Regions from separate parts of the Homo sapiens genome. Here all the other regions are linked to region 1. Evidence: promoter capture Hi-C in 16 types of primary human blood cells and fetal thymus (Javierre and others, 2016). All regions are on one chromosome and are shown on one strand. The core of a region is centred on a gene start or on the middle of the fragment in contact, and the rest is flanking DNA. Distances in the headings are between cores, read along the strand shown. Region 1 holds the start of TNFSF8 (TNF superfamily member 8). Region 2 has its middle 41 kb from the start of TEX48. Region 3 holds the start of LOC105376231 (a long non-coding RNA gene). Region 4 has its middle 27 kb from the start of TNFSF15. Region 5 has its middle 45 kb from the start of TNFSF15. Region 6 has its middle 61 kb from the start of TNFSF15. Region 7 overlaps TNFSF15 (TNF superfamily member 15).

Evidence for each region. The method cuts DNA at HindIII sites, captures the fragments that hold promoters and counts their contacts. A CHiCAGO score of 5 or more calls a contact.
Region 2: a fragment that was not itself captured here is called in contact with the fragment with the promoter of TNFSF8 in region 1 in 12 of 17 cell types (activated CD4 T cells, non-activated CD4 T cells, total CD8 T cells and 9 more); the score reaches 18.0 in activated CD4 T cells.
Region 3: a contact is called between a fragment that was not itself captured here and the fragment with the promoter of TNFSF8 in region 1, in 11 of 17 cell types (activated CD4 T cells, total CD8 T cells, non-activated CD4 T cells and 8 more). The highest score is 22.0, in activated CD4 T cells.
Region 4: a contact is called between a fragment that was not itself captured here and the fragment with the promoter of TNFSF8 in region 1, in 9 of 17 cell types (total B cells, naive B cells, activated CD4 T cells and 6 more). The highest score is 13.3, in total B cells.
Region 5: a fragment that was not itself captured here is called in contact with the fragment with the promoter of TNFSF8 in region 1 in 11 of 17 cell types (total B cells, activated CD4 T cells, naive B cells and 8 more); the score reaches 14.9 in total B cells.
Region 6: a contact is called between a fragment that was not itself captured here and the fragment with the promoter of TNFSF8 in region 1, in 14 of 17 cell types (naive CD8 T cells, monocytes, activated CD4 T cells and 11 more). The highest score is 19.5, in naive CD8 T cells.
Region 7: a contact is called between a fragment that was not itself captured here and the fragment with the promoter of TNFSF8 in region 1, in 6 of 17 cell types (total B cells, naive B cells, non-activated CD4 T cells and 3 more). The highest score is 8.9, in total B cells.

Annotation. Positions count from the first base shown.
Region 1 is chr9:114,928,707-114,932,287 of GRCh38, forward strand. TNFSF8 (TNF superfamily member 8) reads right to left here and starts at 1,885. Exons shown (of 4, transcript NM_001244.4): 1 at 1,403-1,885. The coding sequence starts at 1,597. RefSeq lists an enhancer at 979-1,538. The HindIII fragment of the contact is 2,687 bases long and covers 707-3,393 here.
Region 2 is chr9:114,721,421-114,724,648 of GRCh38, forward strand. No RefSeq gene overlaps it. Among named protein-coding and RNA genes, the nearest start is that of TEX48, 41 kb to the left of the region's middle. The HindIII fragment of the contact is 2,167 bases long and covers 303-2,469 here.
Region 3 is chr9:114,695,207-114,698,401 of GRCh38, forward strand. LOC105376231 (a long non-coding RNA gene) reads left to right here and starts at 644. Exons shown (of 2, transcript XR_007061745.1): 1 at 644-3,195. RefSeq lists enhancers at 1,735-1,784, 1,795-1,914, 2,900-3,099. The HindIII fragment of the contact is 3,680 bases long and covers 1-3,195 here.
Region 4 is chr9:114,777,071-114,780,662 of GRCh38, forward strand. No RefSeq gene overlaps it. Among named protein-coding and RNA genes, the nearest start is that of TNFSF15, 27 kb to the right of the region's middle. The HindIII fragment of the contact is 3,798 bases long and covers 1-3,187 here.
Region 5 is chr9:114,759,526-114,763,030 of GRCh38, forward strand. No RefSeq gene overlaps it. Among named protein-coding and RNA genes, the nearest start is that of TNFSF15, 45 kb to the right of the region's middle. The HindIII fragment of the contact is 4,539 bases long and covers 1-3,505 here.
Region 6 is chr9:114,743,371-114,746,820 of GRCh38, forward strand. No RefSeq gene overlaps it. Among named protein-coding and RNA genes, the nearest start is that of TNFSF15, 61 kb to the right of the region's middle. The HindIII fragment of the contact is 9,237 bases long and covers 1-3,450 here.
Region 7 is chr9:114,797,062-114,800,546 of GRCh38, forward strand. The region is part of intron 1 of TNFSF15 (TNF superfamily member 15); the gene reads right to left. Among named protein-coding and RNA genes, the nearest start is that of TNFSF15, 7.2 kb to the right of the region's middle. The HindIII fragment of the contact is 8,771 bases long and covers 1-3,485 here.

The DNA.
Region 1 (3,581 bases), core at 635-3,134:
TTATTATACTTAATAGATGTAGATAAGCCATTAAATTATGAGTTTTAAGAATTCCACTATCTAAATCAAATATTTGCAACTCCTTCTTTTCACTTTTGTAGAGATATGAGCTTCAAAGCTTCCATTTAATTTCAAAGCTTGATGACACTTGAGAAATAGATATCAAAGCCTTTTAAAGCCTAGTTCTTTCCAGCAATTGATAAGCTATAGAGTACTTGGCCTAAGAAAACTGAAGAAAAACCAGAATAAATTCAGCAGGATTATAATACCACGAAAAGTAGGCACTATGAAGTAAGAAACAGAAATATTCTCACTTTGGCAGGTCATGTGGGTGGGTGCAGCTCTTAAATTACCCATTAACAACTTCATCAAAAAATTCATGAGCAATATATGCTATTACTACAGCATTTTCTATATAATATATACTGGTAGATTCTCTGTAAACACCAATTTTCTAAAATATGAAGAAGCTTCCTCTTTCTCCTCCTCTTCTGTTTTCAGAAACAAATCTTACCATTTACTTCAAAGTAAATCTCCGAAGACAGTCTGACCCTGTACAGTGTGTACCCAACGATTGCTTAGTATTGTGAGGAACATCAGAGAGAACAGGTGCTAAAAACCTTTCAACTTTCTGCTTCTATGTGCTGTTTCTTTTTTTTTTTTTTTTGTGACGCCCTAACTTCTTCAAAGTTGTGGCTTAAGAGGAAGCTTTCGATTTGTCTTGCTGGCTTTAACACCAAAATGTCCAAAGCTCTAAGAAGCCATGGTCTTCTCTTTCGCCTCCTTTCCTTCTAGACCTTGGCCTCTGAAACTTAGCTCCTTGTATAAAACAAAAGCAAAAACAAAACTCTTGGCAATGGGTGAGGCCTCAGAAACCTCCAGGACACTCAGACTTAGGATATAGAACCTCAGAATCCAGTCTGAAGTCCTTGAAGACATGATAACAACTTGTGCAAATGTGTTATCAGGTTTCTCTATTGCTTCCTTCCTTGATATGGGTCTCTGGCTCATTAAGATTTAAATCTTAACTTTAAAAGGCCAATAGCTCCCCTCCACTGTTTTGCTCAGACAGATCTGCAAAGTTTTAAGATGATGGTCTAACAATATTTTTCTCAACAAGCCAAATTATTTTAGAGAGTTAAGTTCCTCTTTCTTTTCTCCCTTTCTCATATATATATATATATATAATATATACTGTATAATATAATATATATTATGTAACATAAGTGTATTACGTTATACAGTATATACTATAGTATATATATATATATAGAGAGAGAGAGTTTATTTATTTAATTTTATTTTGTGCTCTTAACCAACAAACGAATATCATTTGTTCCCAGGGCTCTTTCTCTCGGGAAAACAACAAGAAAAGGAAAGGGAGGAAGAGGAGTCCACTTACCGTCCTCTGAACGACCAACACCATAATAGTGGCCACCGTGAAGACAAGGCACAGAGCCAGAGTGGCTGTGGTCAAATAGAAATAGCTGCGGCTCGTGGTCCCCAGGTGGCTGGCCACGGAGCCCGCCGGCACATGCATGGCTGTGTCTCCAGGAGGGGCCATTCCGTTGAGTGCTTGCTGCAGCCCTGGGTCCATTCTTTATATAGTCTTCCCCACATCACACCTTATCTCTCTTCATCTGATTCAGTTCTGGGCCCATCTCTGTTCCAAGAAGGATTCTCCCCCTGAATCCTGAATCATGTGACTTGGAAAAAAACCTTCACCTGCTGCCTGGTGGAGAAACTCTTCTCTGGGGGCGTGAGGCGAGAGGCGGCAGCAAGGGTGGGGGAGAGGTTCATTTTTCATTGCCAGGGATTAAGTTGTGTGCAGAGAAACTAGCTACAGAGAAGGTGGCTGATGTCAGAGGGCGCGTAGGAAAATGACGGTTCCCCGACTGTGTGTGTGTATGTGTGTGTGTGTGTGTGTGTGTGTGCATGCGTGCGCACACACAAAGCAACTTCTGTTTCGTTTAGACTCTGCCACAAAACGCCTTCCTGTTCAAGAAGCTGCACCTTCTTTCAGCGAGGCCTGTGGCTCAGAAGACCTCCCCAGATAATGAGTCCTTGCTGGGTCTCAGGGAGGCCGGATCCCTCGGACTGCAGTGTAATAACTCCAAAGGGTTCGGTTTGATAGGCTACTGCTGAAAAAGGGACATGCTGCAGGTTCCCTGGGGGAAAAAGGGCACACAAATGGAGATATTTCTCCAAAGGGGGACTGGCTCATGGCAGTATGAAATTTGGGGTTCAAAGATACTGTCAGAAAGCAGGAATCTGGAAATATCAATCTTTTGAACAAACACTCCTGCAGAAGTTTTGGGATCTGTTAAACTGGCAGATGAACCTGGACCTGCCGTAAAACTCATGAAGAGGGGAAGGAATTGGCAGTGAGATGGTGTGGTGTGGAATATGGGGGCTGTGTGTGTTCTGCGTGGTGTACTATGTAGTGTGTGTGTATTTGTGGTATGGGGGTATGTGTAGGTGTTGTGTGTTCTCTATGGTATATGTATGCAGTGTGTGTGTGGTGTGCATTTGTGATCTGCAATGCATGCCGAGTGTGGTGCGTATGTAAGTGTTGTGTGTGGTGTGTATGTATGTGTTGTGTGTGGTGTGTTGTGTCTTGTGTATGTATGTGTTGTGTGTGTATGTGACTACTATAATTGAACCTCTACTGTCTCAGGCACAGCGCTAGGAGTTACATGTGGCTTCATTCCACTTCCACCTCCACCCTCCGAGGCAGGCAATGTTTATTTTTTACAGATGGGAAAACTGAGGCTCAGGGAGGATGAAAACTATCTCAACCTAAGTCGCAAGTGTCGATCACTGAAAGAACTTGGGTGCACTTTGCAGCCTGCCTGGCTGAAAGCTCGTGCTAAGTCATTCAATCTTCACTGCACCTGAAAGCTAAAACCTGAAGTGTGGTCTCAGCCCTTTCCCTTCTTAGCCTTGGGCCATCATACAAGTCTTTATGGCTTTCTCTGTTCCCAATCTGCATTACAGTCATCAGGAAGACCAAGCGAGATGATGTCAGAGTACTCCATGAATAAAAATAGATTTGGGGATGGTGTTGGACAATTCCTGTTAAACATCCCAAGCTGTCTACTGGGCTAAGTCTGGAATTTAGATACAATAGACAGATTACCTGGGGGACAGAGTCAGATCACATCTGTGGTTACTAATGATCTCCATTTCAAAATACCGTTTAAAATGTTAATCACTGCATAGCTGCTGCCTCCAGATGTGGGCCTTTGAAAGCTCCATTTGGTATCACCGTGGAAGAAGCTCATTCTGCATAGCACCTCCTTTCCTTTCTGCTCACTTTTTGTCTGCAGCGCATCACTTTGAGCCAGCAGAGATCCCAGATGCCCCTAAGGAAACGTCCTGTGTCTAAAGCCAAGCTTGGATTATTACCACTGCTGTTCTTGCATAGAACCAAAACTTCTGAGCATCTCCCAAATTAGATCAGGCTTTAGGATTTGGTCTGGATATTTCCTCCCAGTGAGTCTGTAAAAGCATAGATCCTGGAGACGAAAGAGACATCAAGAGATAAATTGTTTTCTTGGGCTAAATAGAGTGGGGGGCGA
Region 2 (3,228 bases), core at 136-2,635, 210 kb before region 1:
AGGGAAAAGACAGACACTCACCCTCTGCCTTGATGGGTTTCTTTCCTCCCATGCCAGTGCCTCCTTGGAAGCCTCCTGTTAATCACCCCAGTGTGCTCAGTTCTTTTCAGCCTCCAGGTTTTTGTCCTGCTGTTTCCTCCCCTGGAGCCGCCTTCTCCCTGCTCTGTGTGCTGGCTCCTCCTGGGGAGCCTGTCCACACCTGCCTCCCTGCGATGGCTGTTGTTCTGTTTCCCCTGCTCACTGCCCTGTCAGTCACAATCTGCTCACACAGGTTTGCTTGCTTGTTATCCACGCCCCCACTAAGCTTAAAGCCTCGCAAGGGCAGCAACTCTGTAGTCGTATTTACAGCGATGTCTACATGGACTCTGAGCTTGAAAACCACCTGGTGATTGAAAGAATGAAGGACTCTGCTTTCTAGTAGGTGAATGACTCTTTGTCAAAGGATTACACAAAAAACAAACAATGATGCAGTGAGGTAACTGCTGTGAAGGGAGTTTACAGTGTGCACGAGGGCACAACACACTGGGGCTGACCTCTGCTGGGTCTTGCATGGAGGCACACACAACCCTGTGGGGTAGGAGCTGGCGTTGCTTCCTCAGAGAAGCATCCCTGATACCCCAGATGAGTGCAGGCCTCCCTGTCATGTGGCTTGACAGCTCCCTGTACTTTCCCTACAGCACTTATTGCAACGATACACATTTATACAATTAGTTTTATTTTCATTGTGCTGAAACGTGCATAAAATTTGCTATTTGTGACGTTCGGTACATTCACAGTGTTGCTCAACCATCACTGCTATCTAGTTCCAGAAATTTTCATCATCTCAAAAGGAAACCCCATACACTTTAAACGGTCACTCCCCATCCTCCATACCCCGGGAAACACTCATCTTTCTGTCTCTATGATTTGCCTATTCTAGATATTTCTTATAAATAAGATGTAATTAGTTAAAAATGTTTTCCCCCCACAGCCATAAAAAAGAATGAAATCACATCTTCTGCAGCAACATGGATGGAGCTGGAGGCCATTATCCTAAGTGAAATGACTCAGAAACAGAAAATCAAATACCGTGTGTTCTCACTTATAAGTGGGAGCTAAACAATGGTTACTCATGGACATAAAGAGGGAAATAATAGACACTGGTGACTCCAAAATCCAGAAGGGTGGGAGGAGGGTGAGGGTTGAAAAATTACCTATTAGATGCAATGTTTACTATTCGGGTGATGGGTTCACCAGAAGCCCAACCTCACCATTACACAATATATCCATGTAACCTGTACATGTGCCCCCTGAAACTATAAAAAACAAAAACCAGTGGAGGAAAATATTTTCTTCCTCTCTTTTCGTCTCCCTCAGGGTAAGAATTGTAGGATTTGTGTCTGTCTGGCTTACTTTCGCCCAGTCCTGGCACAGAGGCTGGCATGTGCTCTATGCCCCCCAAACAGTGGTGGCATGATGGAAGAACATTTTCTCACTGCACGTCTGCAAGCTCACTGGATGAAAACGGTGTGACTTATAGGATACAGGAGTCAGCGTGCTTGGGTACAGTTCCTCCAAATGCCTCTTGCTAGATCAAGTATTACCTTAGTCTTGTTATTAAACACCTTGGCACATCAATTTCCTCATCAATGAATTGGGGAGAGTTGTAATGCCTGCCTCCTTCGGGTAACACGAGGACAACTGACACTCTATCTGCACAAGTGCCTGTTGCAGCAGCTGGCCCAGAGCAGGCTCTCAGGATCACTAGCTATTATTATATTCCTTGTGCTTTTCAACCCCAAGTTCTGGACTGGGTCATATACAGAGTCTATGGCAAATGCACGTTAGTTTGAATGATGCCTAAAAGGGTTTAAAAATTAGGCAGGTGGATGCCTAGGTCAAAACTGAAGAGAGTTCAGTTGGGATGATGATAAAGAAGAGACTTCTCCCATGAGATTTTGTTCAGTTGTGCTGCAACACCAGTATCTCAGAGACTTACAACACTGCGAGTGTGTTTGGCTCACTCTGTAGGTCCCTGTGGGCCAACTGTGGCTCTGCTCCATGGGCTTTTTATTCTGAGATCCAGGCTGAGGATGCAGCTCTCATCTGGGCTGTGCTGCTCCTGTCGCATGGCAGAGGGGAGTGACAGGGTTGGCTCCAAGACTCCTGCTCCCGTGTTGCATACATCACTACTGCTTATATCCTGAGGCCACACCAATCACAGCCAAGCCAAGCAGGGCAGCCACGGTGATCTCTTCCAGGGAGTGCAGCAAATGACTGGGAATAATTATACACAACCATGCTGTGGTCTCAGAGCTTTAGTTATGTTTCGGGCATCTTCCGATGCATCCCTCTAGTTCATGCACTCCAACTCTCTACCCACAAGTTAGAACCATCATCCCAAGAGTTTTGAGAGGGTTGTCAGCTAGCAGTAGCTACTCTGTGGTCTGTGAGGCTCTCCTGCTCTGCAGATTTGGTCCATAGATGGAAAGCTTTGAAACTCCATTTGTGGCAGTGTTATTTATGGTAATGGAAAGCTGGGAAGAATCTAAATATCCAGCAATAGGGGAAAGGGAATAAATGGTGGTTTGTTCACACAAATGGTACTCTGTACCACCATCAAAATAAATAAATGACAGCAAAGTATTAAATTGGAGGAATCTCCAAAACATACACAGTGAGTGGAAAAAGCAGATGTGGGATGATACCATGTGAAAATATGCAAAGTGCTGGAAACCATCTGGCAGTTCCTTAAAATGTTAAAATAAACATAAGTTACTATATCACCAAGTGATTCTACTCCTAGGTATGTAACCAAGAGAACTGAAAATGTCTGTCTGTATAAAAACTTGCACATGAATATTCATAGCAGCATTATTCATAATAGCTGAAAAGTAGAAGCAACCTAAATGTCCATCAACCGATGACTGGAAAAAGTAGTATATCCACCAAATGGAATATTATTTGGCCATAAAAAGGAATGAAGTACTGATACATGCCATAACATGGATGAACCTTGAAAGCATTATGCTACATGAAAAAAGTCAGTCACAAAAATCTCATATTTCATGATTCTGCTTGTATAAAAAGCTCATCAGCCGTGTGCAGTGGCTCATGCCTGTTGCAGTTTGGGAGGCCAAGTCAGGAGAATTGCTTGAGTCCAGGAGTTCAAGAGCAGCCTGGGCAGCTAAGTGACGTCCTGTATCTATAAAAAATAAAAAAATTAGCTGGACATGGTGGCATATGCCT
Region 3 (3,195 bases), core at 421-2,920, 230 kb before region 1:
ACCAAGAACAAAACACATCAGAAGTAGGAATCTCTCTTGGGCAATTTCTAAGTACTATAGAACTTGTCAGCAAGAGAGAAGGCCAAGGAAAAAGTTTTGTTGTTGTTGTTGTTTGTTTTTTTTTTGAGACTAAGTCTTGCTCTGTCACCCAGTCTGGAGTGCAGTGGCATGAACTTGGCTCACTGCAACCTCTGCCTCCCAGGCTCAAGGCATCCTCCTGCCTCAGCCTCCTGAGTAGCTGGGATTATAGGCACCCACCACCATGCCTGGCTAATTTTTTTTTTTTTTGTATTTTTAATAGAGACAGGGTTTTACCATGTTGATCAGGCTGGTCTTGAACTCCTGACCTCAAGTGATCCACCCACCTCAGCCTCCCAAAGTGCTGGGATTACAGGTGTTAGCCACTGTGCTCAGCCAGAAAAAGTTTTAAGAATTCATTTTTTTTTTTTTTTTTTTTTTTTTTTGAGACAGAGTCTCGCTCTGTTGCCCAGGCTCTGGAGTGCAGTGGCATGATCCCGGCTTACTGCATTTTAACCCAGGCTTCATGGTTCTTTGAGCTTCTGATAATATATTTTTTAAATAAGATACAAATTTTAAAGGAGATAAAACTAAGGTTGATAATTGAGTTTTCCTTTTTTTTTTTTTTTCAATTCAAGAGCAGGTACTGTTTATTAACTGACCAGATTAGAAAAATAATCATGGTAGACATCTTCATTTATTCTTCTAAGAAGGCTGTTGATCTGGTCCCCCCTGTTGTCAGCATTTCCACCTTCTACAAAATGGGTGGTCTTTTTCTTCATTCCACCTTCTGGAGAGGATGGTTTGGAGGGCCACAGGAAGTTACTTGCTTGTTTGAAGCATTTTCCAACAGTATAGATCTCATGAATCAGATCTTCCGTGCAGATGATACCATATTTACCAAGAGATTGAGCAATCAAAGTGTTACCTGTCAAAGCAATTCGCTTCTTATTGATTTTGCCATAACCACACTTACAGATTAGTTCATTTACTGACTTCAGATTTGGCTACCCACATGCAATATATGGTTCTACAATCCTCAGCATGTTAATTGAAGATGTGTTGAGCTTCACAAAGGTTCCATTGAAGATTTTATTTATTTATTTATTTAGAGATGGAGTCTCGCTCTGTCACCCAGGCTGGAGTGCAGTGGTGCAATCTCGGCTCACTGCAAGCTCCACTTCCCGGGTTCACGCCATTCTCCTGCCTCAGCCTCCTGAGTAGTTGGGATTACAGGCGTGTACCACCACACCTGGCTAAATTTGGGATTTTTAGTAGAGACAGTGTTTCGCCGTGTTGGTGAGGCTGGTCTCGAACTCCTGACCTCAGATGATCCACCCACGTCGGCCTCCCAAAGTGTTGGGATTATAGGTGTGAGCCACTGTGCCTGGCAGGGTCTACATTTTTATCAGTTCTGGAAGAGCCAGGATTTTGCCTTTATTAGGTTTGCCATTTCACCCGGTAGAAGGTGGAGAACTAAATCCCAGGAGCTTTGGGGGTCCCTTCCTGCTCTGACTTTGGGTGGTTTTGCAAGGTTCACTCCCAGAGAAAGGGAAAGGTCCCATTATCACATGGTGGTGTGAATCGGAATAAGACAACAGCAAAAAACAACTCCCACCATCCCCCAACTTTTACTATCTCTGGGGCCTCTTCTGAATCTCTCTGCAGAGAGAGATCAGGGATGCCCCGAAATTGAGATTGTGGTCGAGGACTGAGACCAAGTTATTCACAACATGGTTATATAATGGATGCTCAGTCATATCAGGACTCAGAAGATGTGAAGGGCCCCGCCCTGCAAGCTGTTTGAAGGTCATGATGGCTTCGCAGTGATGGGAAACAAGGCCAGTGTCTCTGTTTGTGGGTTCCCTGCACCAAGGGTATAATTCACTGGGGCTCTTCCCACCATGGCCTGGCCATGTCTCCACCCACCCACCCACCACCTGACTCCTGGAGAATGGGGGGGAAACTTTTATACTTAATTTTTTTTTGTCTTCTCCTCTTTTTCTGTGTTTTCTTCAAATTTGTTATAAGGGGGCAGCTTGGCAGAGGAAATGTGGTAGTGGCCTGAGGCCTTGGGGCTGAAAGAGCCCGGGGTCTGAAATCATCAGAATTGTCTCCAGATGAATTGAAACTGAGATGGAAAGCAGCATATGACTCATCGTGGGTAAGAAGCCACAGTCTTTTTTGTATGATTGTAACCCCCGGCCAAGTGAAAGCAGAATGACCCCTGTCTCTTCTTTGGGGTCACACAGCTACTCAGGAGGGTGAGAGAAAATGATGTCTATGAAGCACCTGCTATGGGATAGGCATTCTATCTAAACCTGTCCCATTTAAACCTGACAATGCACAGTGAGGGAGGTGTGAGTACCACCCCTGTTTTGTAGATGTGGCTCAAGGAAGGTAAAGAACACATCTTAGGGGAGAGGTTTCTGGTAGTCACTCTCCCTAGACCAGAGAGAATAAGTAATCCCTTGGTACCCTCCATTTTTCAGCCCCTCTGCCTTAAAAAGTGTGTGCTATAGAAGGGGAGGTGTCATGTCCACTCTGCTCTGTGTCTTTAGGAAAATCCCCTTTCCTCTCTGGTCTATTTCTGCTTCTGTAAAATAAAGTCTTTGGTATGAGGTCTTTTTGTGCTCAAGGATTCTATATTTCATGCCCACTTCTTACTGCTCACTTTCATTTTCCCTAGCTCCAGGATAGGCCATATCACTTCCTGGAAAGTTCTGTCCATTCCCATGCTCCCATGGACAACTGAGAGTGAGGACATAAGGTGATTGGGATAAGATCTTGATATTGTAGGAAAAATGGTGAATGACTTTGAAATGGACCGAAAAGATGACTGGGTGTCTTCATCAGAAAACTAGGTGTTTCTATGGGGCCTCTGGGCCTTTCGTTGCCTTTGAACTGTTTCAGAACTGTAAGTTGTAGATGACTGAGAGTGATGCAAATGGTTCTTGTCCGTAGATATGCAAATACATTTTCTGGTGGTAATACAATTGTCTTACCACATCTCCTGTGGAATAAACCAGTTTTGCATCTTTATTCATTTCAGTATTTCTTGCTTGTGTATATGTGGTTCTTGGAATTATCCTTGCAACTAGATGTGACGTCCTACTAGTTCTCTCACAAATTAATGAGCTAAATCATTGATATGCAATTCTTTGATATTTCAGTGAG
Region 4 (3,592 bases), core at 39-2,538, 150 kb before region 1:
GTTCTCAATAATCTTGTGAATATTCCTTTCTTTTCTTTTCCTTCCCTTCTTTTTTCCTCCTCTTCTTCTCTTTCTCTCTCTCTTTCTTTCTTTTTTCTTTCTCTCTCCCTCTCTCTCTTTCTGTCTTTCCTTTCCTTCTTCCTTTCTCTCTCACTCTCTCTTTTTCTCTTTGTTCTCTTAAAGAGGTCAGGGAAGAGAGGAATAGTATGTTTTATTACAGTGTTTAACAACATGGTTTTTGCAATCAGCCAGACCTTGGTTTAAATCTTGGCTCCACAGCTCATTACCTTTGGGACTTTGGAAGAGTCACAGCATATCTTCAACCCTCAGTCTATTTAGCTGTAAAATGGAGGTAATGATTTCTGATTGATAAAATTATTGTGAGACTTGAATAAAAACTGAGTAAATGAGAAGTGGCCACCTAAACCTGTTCCATGGCAGGTGCCCAGGAGTTCTGTCTTCCAGTTTAGCTGTGGGTCAATCCCAGTTGTCATCCTACGATCAGCTACTTGATAGGTCTAGGTCCTCCCATTCTGAGTCCCTCTCCTTTCTCCTCACTAGGGAAAGTTTGTCTGGGGTGAAGATGTGAGTGTAAACTGGATTTATATTTATTCAAAACCATAAATGATTAAAATGCATTTTGCAGATTTGGGTTGGAACTTCCCCTTCCATTTTCCCCAACCTGCTTCCACTTCCCATATAAAGCCTGTTTTTGCTCTGGGTGACATCCTTGGGAATAGGAAGGATTGAATAAAAACTGGAAATTGGAAGACAAATGTATATAGGGAAGGAATCCAGATACAAAACTATGTTGAATAGTTTGTCCCACAAACATTTATTAGAGTTCAGCTGATGACAGTTCCTAAAAGTGAGTAAGACACCATCAGATGGGGGAAAGACAGACGATCAGACAACAAGCCCGAGACAGGGGATGGGGAGGGTTCCTGTGAGAGTCCCTGCATGAGGCATTCAGGGTTGGCTCCGCAGATGAAAGGACAGCTGAGCAGAGTCTTGAGAAATGACTAGCAGTTCACCACGGGGTAGGGGAGGGCAGGCATTCTACCCAGAGTGCTTTAATCAGGGGTGCTAGGGCAAATGTGTACCAATTTACAAGAAGGGAATATTAAATTACCAGGAGTTTTGTGAGCTGGTCATTAAACACAGCCATAATAAAATTAAATTACATAAACCTACATTTATATAAATTATATTACAACAAAGGTAATAAATACTCCAAACTTGTCACTTCTTAGTTATTACTACATTATCCATTATCTATCCTCTTGTGGTTGTAAATATCTATTGTATCCATATGGCTGAAATACATCCTTTCTGAACTCACTGGCAACACATTGGTTGCTTGTAATTGGTCATGGTGGAAATATTTACAACACAGATAGCAACAAATGGTGCGAATCAGGGCTTTATTTTGGAGAGCCGGATGTTCAACATTTATTAGCACATCACTGCCTCTATAACATAGGCAGAGGGGACATGGGAAACCAAATGAAGCAGAGAGGTTGGTAGGGACTGGATCAGGAAGGGCTTTGAATGCCAAATCCAGGAGCTTGGATTTCCCTCTAAAGATGATAGGAAGCTACCCTGGCCTTTCGAAGAAGGAGAGTTCTATGAACTGTTTTTGTAATAGCAAGACCACTGTAGTTGCTGTAGAGCAGATGGACTTCAGTGGGCTTCACTTGGTGCAGGGAGACCAGTGAGGAGGCTATTGACATAAAGAAGGAAAGAAGGGGTCTAATTTGAGACTCAGGAGTTGGCCTTAGTGAGTGATTAAATGTGAGGGATGGGGAGAGTGGCCAGCCTAAGATGACCCAGGGTTCTGTCTTGGGACACTTGGTGAAAGATGGTGATGCCTCAGAAGTACAAGTGCCCATGGGCAGATGGACAGAGTGTGACAGTGTCCTGGAGAGAAGGGAAGGGCAGATCCCAAAGCATTCAGACCTCACTCCTCAATTCCTGCCTTTATCAGACTCGTAAACACAGGGATTTATTTTTGCTAGACTCGCAGAGTGGGGTCTCTCTGACCCTTTTGCTCATGGACTGAACGCCTAAGGCAGCATCATGGGACTAGAAGCATGGTATTGGATTTGGTCAGATCTGGCTCAGTCCCTTTATTCCTATGAATATGATGGCTTCCTTTCTGAGCCTTGATTTATCTTTTTGTAAAATGGGTATTCTCATCCAGACCATACTTTCCTCCCCATGGAGCTCTTGAAAGAAGGGACACATGCTGGTAATTTTCCTTATCCTTATGATGTCAGATCATGTTTGTTAGCACAAGGGCAAAAACCAGGAAAACTTCCTGGCACACAGGAAAGCAAAGTCTATTTGGGCGTCATTCTTGAAAAACAGTAGGGAGTGCCAAGGACAACGTTGGATCTTCCTGTAGTGGCTGCAGGAGAAAAGTTTTCCATTGAGAGGCTGGAGTGGAGCTCTAGGGATTGGTGGGGTTGTCACCAGCCATACCAGTGCATTCTAAGGCACAAGTTGTTTGCTTTGGCCCAGAAACAGCTGGCAGTTGGCCAGTGCCCAGCCACCTTGTCCTTTGCCCATGAAGGCTCTAGTAATTAGCAATATTCACCGAATGAATCACAGTTGCTATCAGCCAGTAATTGTGCTATGGAGTCATGAGTCTAAATGTTAACTAAATCAAACACGCTGTGCAGAGTGGCCTTAGAGAGGCCTTCACTGAATCACTGACTTGGAAATTGGGTCCTATTTTTGTTCTTTATCTTTACAGCCTGTTTTTCTCCTTTAGATCACTTATCACAATAAGTTTTTGCACAGTAATTCCTTTATTGTAAACCTCCCCATTCCCCTCCAACTTCAACCCAATAGCATGGAAGTTTTATGAGTTTAGTAGCTATGTTTATTTCATGTGTAGCCCTTGGCATTGAGGGTCCTCATTAAGTAAGAGTTAGATGAATGAATAACCAAGTCTCCAGACCTTCATGTGCCATTCTATTATGATCTTATAATTTCTATAATTTGGTGTTGCTTCTTTAAATGTAGAAGAGAAGAAATAGAGACAGCAGAATTTTCAGGTAATTTTCTGATGAGGGACCAGGTACCTTTGTGGGTTTCATCTCATTTTATCCTCACAAGGGTGTGGTGAGGCATGTACTACTTTTTAAAAAATTTTTTTTCAAGTATTTCATATTTTTTGAGAAGCTTTCCTTCTGGTACCCATGAGCTTTTAGTTTACAGCATATAAACGTTTTAATGTCTTTATTTCCAAAACACAATACATTGCATTGTCTAAAGCATTCTTAAACCTTGGCATGTAGGAATAGCTTTATTCTGCTCTCATGCAATGGATGAATTGTGGTTTATATAATTAACAACTAGAGTGTCAAACTCAATGGGTATAACTGTGTACTGGGGAAAAATCAACAACAAAGGGATCAAGTCCACTGAGAACTTTTAAGAGATATCAAAAAATATTGTATTGGTACTAGAGTTCTCATCTTGACATGGTCACTGGCCAGGTATGTGACTCGCAACATGTGCTACTTTCATTCCCATTTTGCAGATGAAGAAATTGAGTCTCAGGTAGATTAACTCAGCTCTCTGA
Region 5 (3,505 bases), core at 659-3,158, 170 kb before region 1:
GGTCCCTCTTAGGACACTGCCTTTTAGAACTGAGATGCTACAAGAATCCCAGGCCACATGGAGAGTCCAAGTTTAAACAATCTGGTCCGTAGCCCAAGCTGAGTTCCCATCCAACAGCCAGCATCAAATTCCAGCCATTGAGTGAGCCCTGTTGGATATTCCAATCCGATCAATTCCAGATGACTGTAACTATTCCAGCACACCATATGACACTGGATGGAACAGAGGAACAATCTGTCATCCCACAGAATCGTGAGAGATAATAAATTGTTCTTTTAAGCCTTAACCATTTGTTGATTTGTTACGCAGTGACCACCACATTGAAGTTCGTCTGCCAATGATCTTCTTTTTATCAAATCTGGTGGTCACTTCTTGGCTGTCACCTTGTGTGGACTCCCAACAGCATCATGTTTTGAAACACTCCCTTTTCCTTGGCTTTTCGACTTCCCACGCTCCTGGATTTTTCCCTGCTTTATTGGCTGCCACTTTTCAGTTTTCTTTGCTTTCTCTTTTATTCAACCTCTAAGTCTTGGAATGCCTCAGAGTAGTCAAGAACCTCTTTCTCCATTTATATCTGTACAGTCTCTTAGGTGACCTCATCAGTCCCATTGCTTTACAAATATCTTTGTGTTGATGGCTCCCAAGCATATTGGCTGGTGTTGACTTTTCCCTGGAACTGTAGACTTATAGAGCCCATTGTCTGCCTGACACATCCATCTGGCTATTGCATAGGCATCCCCAAATGTACATAGTGAAAGCATAGCTCTGGATTCTCCCTATACCCAAGACCTCTTTCTGTTGACCTCACCTTGGTAAATGACAACAACAGCTACCCAAATGCTAAAGTCCCCCAAATTAGCTGTTACCTTCATCTCTTTTCCTCGATCCCCACAATCAATCCAGTATTAAATCATGTGGAATACAGTTGAAAAACATAGTTTAAAATAATCAATTTCTCTTGAATCTACATATAAAGATTACAGCCCCACTTTCTCTTGCCTTGGTTCATCCAAACAATCTTTCAACTGGTGTCCTTCTCTCCTCTCTTGTGCCTCTCCAATCTGTTCTCTAAACTCCAGGTAGATTGATCTTTGAAAATATAGCTCAGATTTTGTCACTACCTTGCTTATGTTTAGTGGATTCTAATTGGCTTAAACTCAACTCTTTCTCCTCATGCAGAGCCCTCCATGATCTGGCCTCTGTCTTCTTCTCCGACCTCATCTCCTACTGCATTCCCTCCCATATATTCTTCTTGGATCACACCAGCTTTCTGTTGGTTCCTTGAACACTTCAAGCTCATTTGTACTTTAAAGCCACTGTGCTACTTAATCTTTGTGCCTGCAATTGTCTCTCTCTTTTTATCATCAACAACAATTGTTCCTTTCTACCCACCCCATCACTCCTGATTCCATCACTGAATTTTTTTTACTTCCTCCCCTCAGCTTTATTTTCCACAGCAGACATTTTACACACTCTCCAAAATTAATAAACAACACTTTGTCATATTTACTTCATGCTGTTTTTTTAAAGAAGTAAAATTTTGTAGCCTTTTCCCTTCTTTCCTTTCCAAAGGTAATAACATTCACAAATTTTATGTCTATTTTTATACTTCTACTACATATGTAACTACCCATAAATGATATATGTTATTTTTTGTGTATTTGAAAAAAATGTAGTGTTATTATCCTATACATATTGTTCTATAATTTGCTTTAAAAACAACAAAATAAACGTATTTTTGAGGTCTATCCATGTTGGTATCTATCTATCTATCTATCTATCTATCTATCTATCTATCTATTGTTATATAATTCTATCTAGCTATGCCATCACTGAATTTTTGTTTTCCATGTAGCACTTGGTTTGTTACCAGCTTCCCCCAGTAGAATATTATCTTCATGAGACCAAAGACCTTGTCTGTCTTCCTCGCTATGATGTCTCCAGCACTTCCAAAATAATGTCTGGCATGCAACAGGTACTCAGTGAATACTCATTGAAATAACTCTTCTTTTTAATCTCCTCATCTTTTTTGTCCTCTTTGAGACAGAGGTAAGTAAAATGCTACAATAAATGAGAAACACAAGCGAGTCACCAGGGAGGAAGCACACTAGAGCAAAGTGATATCCTAGAAGCACCATTTTGCCTAACAATATACAGTGACTCTTACAGCCCTCACAATAAAGCCTCAGGAGGTCCACAGCCCAGCTCCACCTACCACTGTGGTCTCACTGGCTGTTGCTGTTCTATGCCAGTCTCTCTCCCCAGTAAACTCGTCTTCTTTCCTAAATAGCCAACTCCTCTCCCTGTGTTCCTATATTTTTCACACTGTTTCCACAACTGAAGTGCCCATTCTTTTTTGACTCAACATAGCCTTCAAAATTCACCTCATGCCCCACCTCAACAGGTTTGCACATCTTTATTGAGCTTTTTTGTCAAGTGAGGGCTTTTCAGTCATGTGAGCTCAGGCAGGCCTCTTAGTGGCAGGCAGGGCAGGTACCACACCTTATGCTCATTTTACAGATGGTCCTGAACTTGGTCTCTAGACAGGTAAAGAAAGTCGAAAGAGGCTGCATTGGGTGAGGGAGATTCTTAGAGTTCATCCCACATCTCTGCACCAGAGAGGGCCTTCTCTCCTTTTCTTTTCTCTCCTCTCCTCTCCTCTCCTCTCCTCTCCTCTCCTCTCCTCTCCTCTCTTCTCTCTCTCCCTCCCTCCCTCCCTCTCTCTCTTTTTCTTTCTTTCTTTCTTTCTTTCTTTCTTTCTTTCTTTCTTTCTTTCTCTCTCTCTCTTTCTTTCTTTCTTTTTCTTTCTCTCTCTCTCTCTTTTTCTCTTTTGAGAGGGAGTCTCACTCTGTCACCAGGTTGGAGTGCAGTGGCATGATCTCAGCTCACCGCCACCTCCGCCTCCAGGGTTCGATTCCCCTTCCTCAGCCTCCTGGGACTACAGGTGCACACCACCACACCCGGCTAATTTTTTTTTTTTTGTATTTTAGTAGAGACGGGGTTTCACCATGTTGGCCAGGATAGTCTCAATCTCCTGATTTAATCTCGTGATCCACCCGCCTTGGCCTCCCAAAGTGCAGGGATTACAGGCGTGAGCCACCGTGCTCGGCCCTTGTTTATTTTTTTTTTATATGGTAGAATCCCATCTAACCAGGGTGAGCTTTTATTTATTTATTTATTTTTTGAGACGAAGTCTCACTCTGTCGCCCAGGCTGGAGTGCAGTGGCATGATCTCAGCTCCAGGGTGAGCTTTTAAAGCCAGCCCATGAAAACCCCTTTGAAAGGCTTAGCTTTGAAGAGCAAACCCATGGGCAGCACAGCCAGTTTTATATCCAATGGGGCTGCTGTTTCTTTCTTTCTGATTTTTTTTTTTTAAGATGGTAGTCTCAGTATGTTGCCAAGGCTGGTCTTGAACTCATGACCTCAAGCAATCCCCCTGCCTTGGCCCTCCAAAGAGCTGGGATTAAATGTGGGGCATTGCCCCTGGCCTGCTGTTTCTTTAGTT
Region 6 (3,450 bases), core at 504-3,003, 190 kb before region 1:
ATGTGGCTTTAAGATTTTAAAAGTATTAAAATATTTCTTTGGATTATCATTACAATTATTAATACTAGGTGGGGAGCAGTGGCTTATGCCTGTAAATCCCAGCGTTTTGGGAGGCTGAGGCGGGAGGATCGCTTGAGCTCAGAAGTTCAAGACCAGCCTGGGCAACATAGTGAGACACTGTCTCTACAAGAAATTTTTGAAAAAATTAGCCAGGCATGGCAGTGCATGCCTGTGGTCCCAGCTGCTTGTGGGGCTGAGGTAGAATTGCTTGAGCCTGGCAAGTCAAGGCTGTGGTGAGCTATGATTGTGCCACTGCACTCCAGCTCCTGGAGGGTATGGTATCTGCATAAACTATTTGGTATTTTTTTTGGTATAGCAGATTTGTCTCTTCTCCTTTTGTTAACTTAGTCACTCTTTTTTGTTTATATCAACACAGACTCATGGATATTTATTTTATACTTTGGGCCATAATCCAATACTATCTTATTGATTTGGTTGCTCAAATGGTTCCAGCTTTGGCCATTGGATGATCTTTTAATTGGCTACTGGGTCCCTTGGAAATAATCCCATCATTTTGTCTTTTGAGCATTTTCTTACTTTTTAGCATGAGAGGCCATTTCTTTTTTTTTCTTTTTTCTTCAACCTTTATTTTATTTATTATTATTATTATTTTATTTTATTTTTGAGACAGTCTCACTCTATCGCCCAGGCTGGGGTGTAGTGGTGCAATCTTGGCTCACTGCAACTTACGTCTCCTAGGTTCAAGCAATTCTTGTGCCTCAGCCTCCAGAGTAGCTGGGATTACGGGTGAGCACCACCACGCCAGGCTAATTTTTTTTTTTTTGTATTTTTGGTAGAGATAGGGTCTCACCATGTTGGCCATGGCTGGTCTCTAAATCCTGGCCTCAAGTGATCTGCCCGCCTTGGCTTCCCAAAGTGCTGGGATTACAGGTGTGAGCCACCGTTCCTGGCCTTCAACTTTTATTTTAGTTTCAGGGGTACATGTGCAGGTTTGTTACATGGGTATATTGTTACATGGGCAGGTTTGGGGTAGATTGATCCTGTCACCCAGGTATAAGCATAGTACCCGAGAGGTAGTTTCTCAGCCTTTGCTTCCCTTTATTCCTCCTCCCTCTTATGGTCTCCACTGTCTATCTTTCCCATCTTTGTATCCATGTGTACCCAATGTTTAGCTCCCACTTACAAGTGAGAATATGTGGCATTTGGTTTTCTGCTTCTGTGTTAGTTTGCCTAGGATAATGAGATGTCATTTCAGATCACTAAATTAAAATAGCACTTCATCTCCAACCAATCCCTCTCTATGACACAACCTTTAAGATATTTTTATGGAATGAATCACTATAAAAATTATCTTTTTTAAATTTTAAATTTTGTGGGTTCATACTAGGTATATAGATTTATGAGGTACATGAAATGTTTTGATATAGGCATGCAATGCATAATAATCACATCTTGGAGAATAGAGTATCCATCCCCTGAAGCATTTATCCTTTGTGTTACAAACAATCCAATTATACCCTTTTAGTTATTTTAAAATGTACAATTAAGTTATCATTGACTATAGTCACCCTGTTGTACTATCAAACAGTAGGTCTTATTTATTCTATATTTTTTTGTACCCATTAATTATCCTCACTTTCCCCCCAACCTCCACTACCCTTCCCAGCCTCTGGTAACCATCCTTCTACTCTCTATGTCCATGAATTCAATTGTTTTGATTTTAGATCCCACAAGTAAGTGAGAACATGTGACATTTATCTTTCCCTGCTGGCTTATTTAACTTAACATAATGACCTCCAATTCCATCCATGTTGTTGCAAATGACAGAATCTCATTCTTTTTTAATGGCTGAATATACTCCATTGTGTATATGTGCCACATTGTCTTTATCCATTCATCTGTTGATGGACTCTTGGCTTGCTTACAAATCTTGGCTATTGTGAATGGTGCTGTAACAAACATGGGAGGGCAAATATCACTTCGATATCCTGATTTCCTTTCTTTGGGTATATACCCAGCAGTGAGACAGCTGGAACATACAGTAGCTCTATTTTTAGTTTTTTTGAGGAACCTCTGAACTGTTCTCCATAGTGGTTGTACTAATTTACATTCCCACTAACAGTGTACAAGGGTTCCCTTTTCTCCACGTCCTTGCCAACATTCGTTATTGCCTGCTTTGGATCTAAGCCATTTGAACTGTGTACAATTATGTTTTTTGGAGATGGGTGGAGTAGAGGAATGTTATTTTTTGGTGACTAAACCATGTATTTTTGTCAGCGATTACTCTCGCTTCCTAGTGGTCCAGTAGCTCCTATGTAAATAGTCAAATTCAGCCAACTTAGACCACAGAGCCTCCTGTGCCATGTAAAGAGGATTCTCCTCTACTGAGACAACAAGACCATGAGGAGCAAGGCGGATGTCACATTAGAGATGTTCTGATTGGGCTGGGAGAGGAAGGGGAAAACCTTGTTAGGGTGAGGGTCAGAGGATGCAAAGACTCAGATGTGTGTGTCCCATTCTGACCCTGCTTGTCTGGACTAATATCTGGAAGGGGAGGCCTTCCTCAAGATGAAGGGAGCACCCAAGCAGAGGAGGTTTGTGCTGGGTCGCTGGAGGATGCTTCTTTGCTGGGTCACTCATGTCAATTAGGGAGAGGAGGGTGGTGCAGAGAAGAGGCAGCACTTTCAGAAGCACAGAGGCAGAGCTGCAGAGCCAGATGTGGTACCACTTGTTGGGCGGGGAGCAGTCTTGGTCCTGGCTGCTCCTCCATGGAGTGAGAAGCATCCAGACAATTCCTGCATCCATCCTGGGGGCACTCTTCCTGGGGAGGAGATTGTGGCAGAGGCTTAGCATGGGTACCCTTCTCATAGGCCCAGTGGAGTATGTGACTGAGGCCCAGCAGAACCTTCAGGGCTAGCCAGAGCTGAGGCGGGGCTGAGTCACCCAGGGAGGACAACACAGGTCCATATCAGGCCTGGCATCTGTCAGTCATGTGTGAGGACCCAGAGGCCAGAGCATAGATCAGAGGCCCCATCTTTTAATATCATAGTGACACCACACCAGTCTCCTTACTCACCCAGAACAGAGAAAAAGAAAAGGTGAGGCTTTACCCAAAAGAACCTGAGATGAAAGAGACTATTGCACATGGAAATTACTGAGATAACTGTTAATTGGCAAATTGAAGTTTCCCTCTCTGTTTTCTTTACTGGTGAATCCCCAGACATTAGAACTGTGCTTGGCACAGAGAAGGCATCCAATAAATGTTTGAATGAATGAACCACAGAGACAATAACCCACTTCAGGAGGCCAGACTGGGGGAAGAAAGGCAATGCAATCCCATTCCATCTGGTTTTAAAAAATTGTTCTCCAGACCTTTATCCAAACTCCTCCTTCTCCTGCTATAAAACAAATGTTCCCGTGGCTAGCAAT
Region 7 (3,485 bases), core at 423-2,922, 130 kb before region 1:
CTCTGGTGTAGGAAAGGTACCTGCCCTGGTTGGCCTCTTTTGATTTATTTAATTATCTGCTGAGAAATTTTGAACATCCTGCTTGTCTTTGGCTAAGATGACATTCAGCTAAGAGTTTACAACATTCCTCTTTGACTCAGAATCCCATTGTCATTAGCATGTATCTGAGCTGTGGACACATTTCCCTGTTTGCTCTGCTGGACTTCTGTAACTTGGGCACACATTTTATTTTCATATATGGATGGATAAGTATGGTCCAGTGTGCCACTAAACATCTGGAGGTGGTGACCAAGCCTGTTGGCAGATATTGAAGACTACAACATTCCAAGAGTCCGCAAGAAGGACGTCATTTGAGACTCTTTCTCCAAGAACAACATCTAAACCTTCCATTGCTGCTTCTCTTAATAACAACTCTGTCTATCACAGGAGGAAAATTATTGTGATAGGAAGCAGTAATGAATGAGGAAGAAATTTGAGAGGATGGAATAATAGCTTATTTGAGAAAAGGTTTATGCATTACAGCTGTCCTAATGCCTGCTCTCAGGATGGTTCCTGGGAACACCAGGCCAATGCAATGTCTTCTGTGTTCCAGCCCTGACTCATCTCCATCACTTCTTGTTATTCTGGGGGCACCGAAGAGGTGTTGGCTCCTAAGAGGTGCTGGTCATGGCAACATTAGCCTCCAATTGAATAGACATGGTGTCTGATAATGAGATTATTCCTACATACATATCTTTTCAAACCACTGGCTGAAATCCAGGATCGAATTTTATTATTTATTTGTGTGCTTATGACTTTTCTCGCTCTGAAAATTCAACCTGCCTACAGGTGGGGACCTATATTCCTAGTGCCTCAGTCAGTGCCTGGCACTTTTGCCAGATTATCCAACTGGCAAAATGCACAGATTCTCAGGCATCAGGAAGACAGAGGCAGACAAAGAGAGTCAGAGAGGGGGTGAGGATGCAGTGACTTCAGCCAGAGTTTTATAATCCAAAAATCTAGGAAAGACAACTTTTTGTTCCTATTAAAAATGTTTGTCATTTAGTACGAGGGCCTCTAAAGGTCTTCATCAGGCTCTGTGTGGAGCATAGCTGTGGCTCTAGAAAGATTTGTTGTAAGTGGCAAGGCTTAGCCAGGAGCCAGAGTCAGAAAAGCAAATGTGTATGTCCATAAGCATGCATCTTAGAGGGAGATGGGATGCTTGCTCCCACCAGCATATGTTAGCCCTAGCAAAAAACAGCTGGTGCTTCTCTTCCCCTACCCTCCTTAGTTCTTGTAGGTCAGGGAATTTTTCCTCTCATTTGATTTTTGTTTTTTTTTTTGTATGTTGACTGGTAATCCCTGACTCAAACTAACCATGGTCTGTTACTATAGGTATTTTTGGAATTACTTTAATTATTTAAATTGGGCAGAAGAAAGCATAAAGAGGAGATTGAAGTTTAGTGGAATGCTCCCCAGGTGCCAGGTCCTGTATTGGGCATTTATGTGTTTGCCTCATCTAATACTCCAGCTACTTTTAAAGGAGGGGTCAGCATCACCTTTTCATGGCTTAGAATGGCACGAAAAGAGGTCAAGCAACTGTCCAAGGTCAAAGAGTGCATGGAGGGCTTGGGATCTGAACCTTTAGACCAAGTACAGACCCTGGCACATATTGGGAGCTTCATAAACATCAGCTCAGTGTACAATAGATGAACAAGCCTGAAGCAAGATAATCTTTGAGATTTCCTGGCATTTCCCCAGAAAAATCCCCTAAGTATATTTTAATTAATGATCCACATAGCCTTTCCTCTCATGTACTATAGTCACTCTCTATCTCTATTCATAAACAGGGAGAGATATTCATCTCTTGCTGTCATAAATGCTGTAATTGCAAAGGCATAAATGTTTTATGATCCAAAACATCCTCCCAGCACTTCCAGGAGAAATATGCAGATGTTTGCCTCTTTGTCTCTTCCTTCTGCTTCTGCCTGTTTATACTTGCCCAAGGATAACGCCAACCTGGAAATGTTTTATTCTGAGGTCATTTCATTTCATCATCCTCCAAGGTGCCCTGGATAGGGCTTTATGTGCAACATTCAGCACAGTACAAAGCAAAGATGCTGGTGTTTGCAGGTGAGCAAATTTGGAAATCCCAGCTCCATTATTTCCTGGTGCTCTGATTGTGGCATGTCACTTGACCTCAATGGAACTGTTTCCTCGTCAATAAAAGCAGACAATAATTCTTACCTCCCAGGTCTATTGTGATGGCTCAGAAAGGCCACATATATAAGGTTCATTTTCCTCATTTCTTTGGGCTCAATATATGATTGTAGGCTGTATTGTTGGTTCTGCACATCCTCTTTTTGGTCTTAGGACTTCAGTTGTACACAGAAGCCACCCTTGTATCTTTTTATCACAAGGAGTAGATTTGGATGCTTTAGGAGCTCCGGGAGGCATCTGCTTTTCCCCAAGGACAGACATTCACTAGGCTTCCTCAGGCTTTTGAACTTCTGCCCTTTCAGAGTGCAAATAGATTGAGGGAATGGAATTTACGCCCCACCCACTTCACATCCCCAGCTTGTTGCTGCTGTCAGCTACAAGGAGGGGTCAGGCTGGGAGATGACCTCTTGTAGCCAGTGTGTGGTCTGCAGTGTATGCTCCATTGGGTGCGGATGCAGGAGCTCTCCAAGCTGGCCTGGCACTCAGCGATATGTTCACTTTACCTGGTGGTTGAGTGGATTCTGCCGTTACCAGCTGCAAGCTGCCTGGATGTCTGAGATTCACAGCCAGGCTTGCTTGCCCTTCCTGCCTCTGCACTTCCTCAGTGCACCTTCACTGCCTCTGGTTTCCCTTCCCTTTGCCCACAACCTGATCTTTGGAGTGAATATCTTCCAGGTATGCTGGTGCTTCCTGAGGTTATAGCAAGGGCATCTTCACTGAGGGATAAGGGGTCTGCAATTTACAAAGTACTTTTATCTCAACTATCTGTTTTTCTCTAGATAGCACTGAAAGAGATTATCATGATCCCTAATCCTTCGGAAAGAGGAAACAACTTGAGTGAGATAAGAGGGCTCATCCCAGGTGGAGTGGGGAGGGGGAGGGGGAGGGAATCATGTCTGCTGAGCATCTATTCTATGGCAGCAGCTTTCTGGACATTTTGCAGAATTCTCACCATAGTGCTATATAGAAAGCGTATTAATCTCCTCATTTTATAGACAGTGAGTCTATGGCCCAGGGAGATCTAGTACATTTCCCACCCCTCCAACCCTCCCTCCATCCAGAAAACACTTAGTGAGTGCCTTCTGTGTGCCAGGTACAGATAGGTGCCCTCAGGGGAGGAAGAGGACTGGCATTTATTGAGCACTTACTATGGGGTAGGTGCTTTTCATAGTTAAATCCTCCTGCCTATCCCAGGAGGTGAATACTTGGTTGGACTTATTCCCAAAGGCAGACAACATAGTGATTAGGAGAAATATATACAGTGGATTTAAATCCGTGTCACAGTC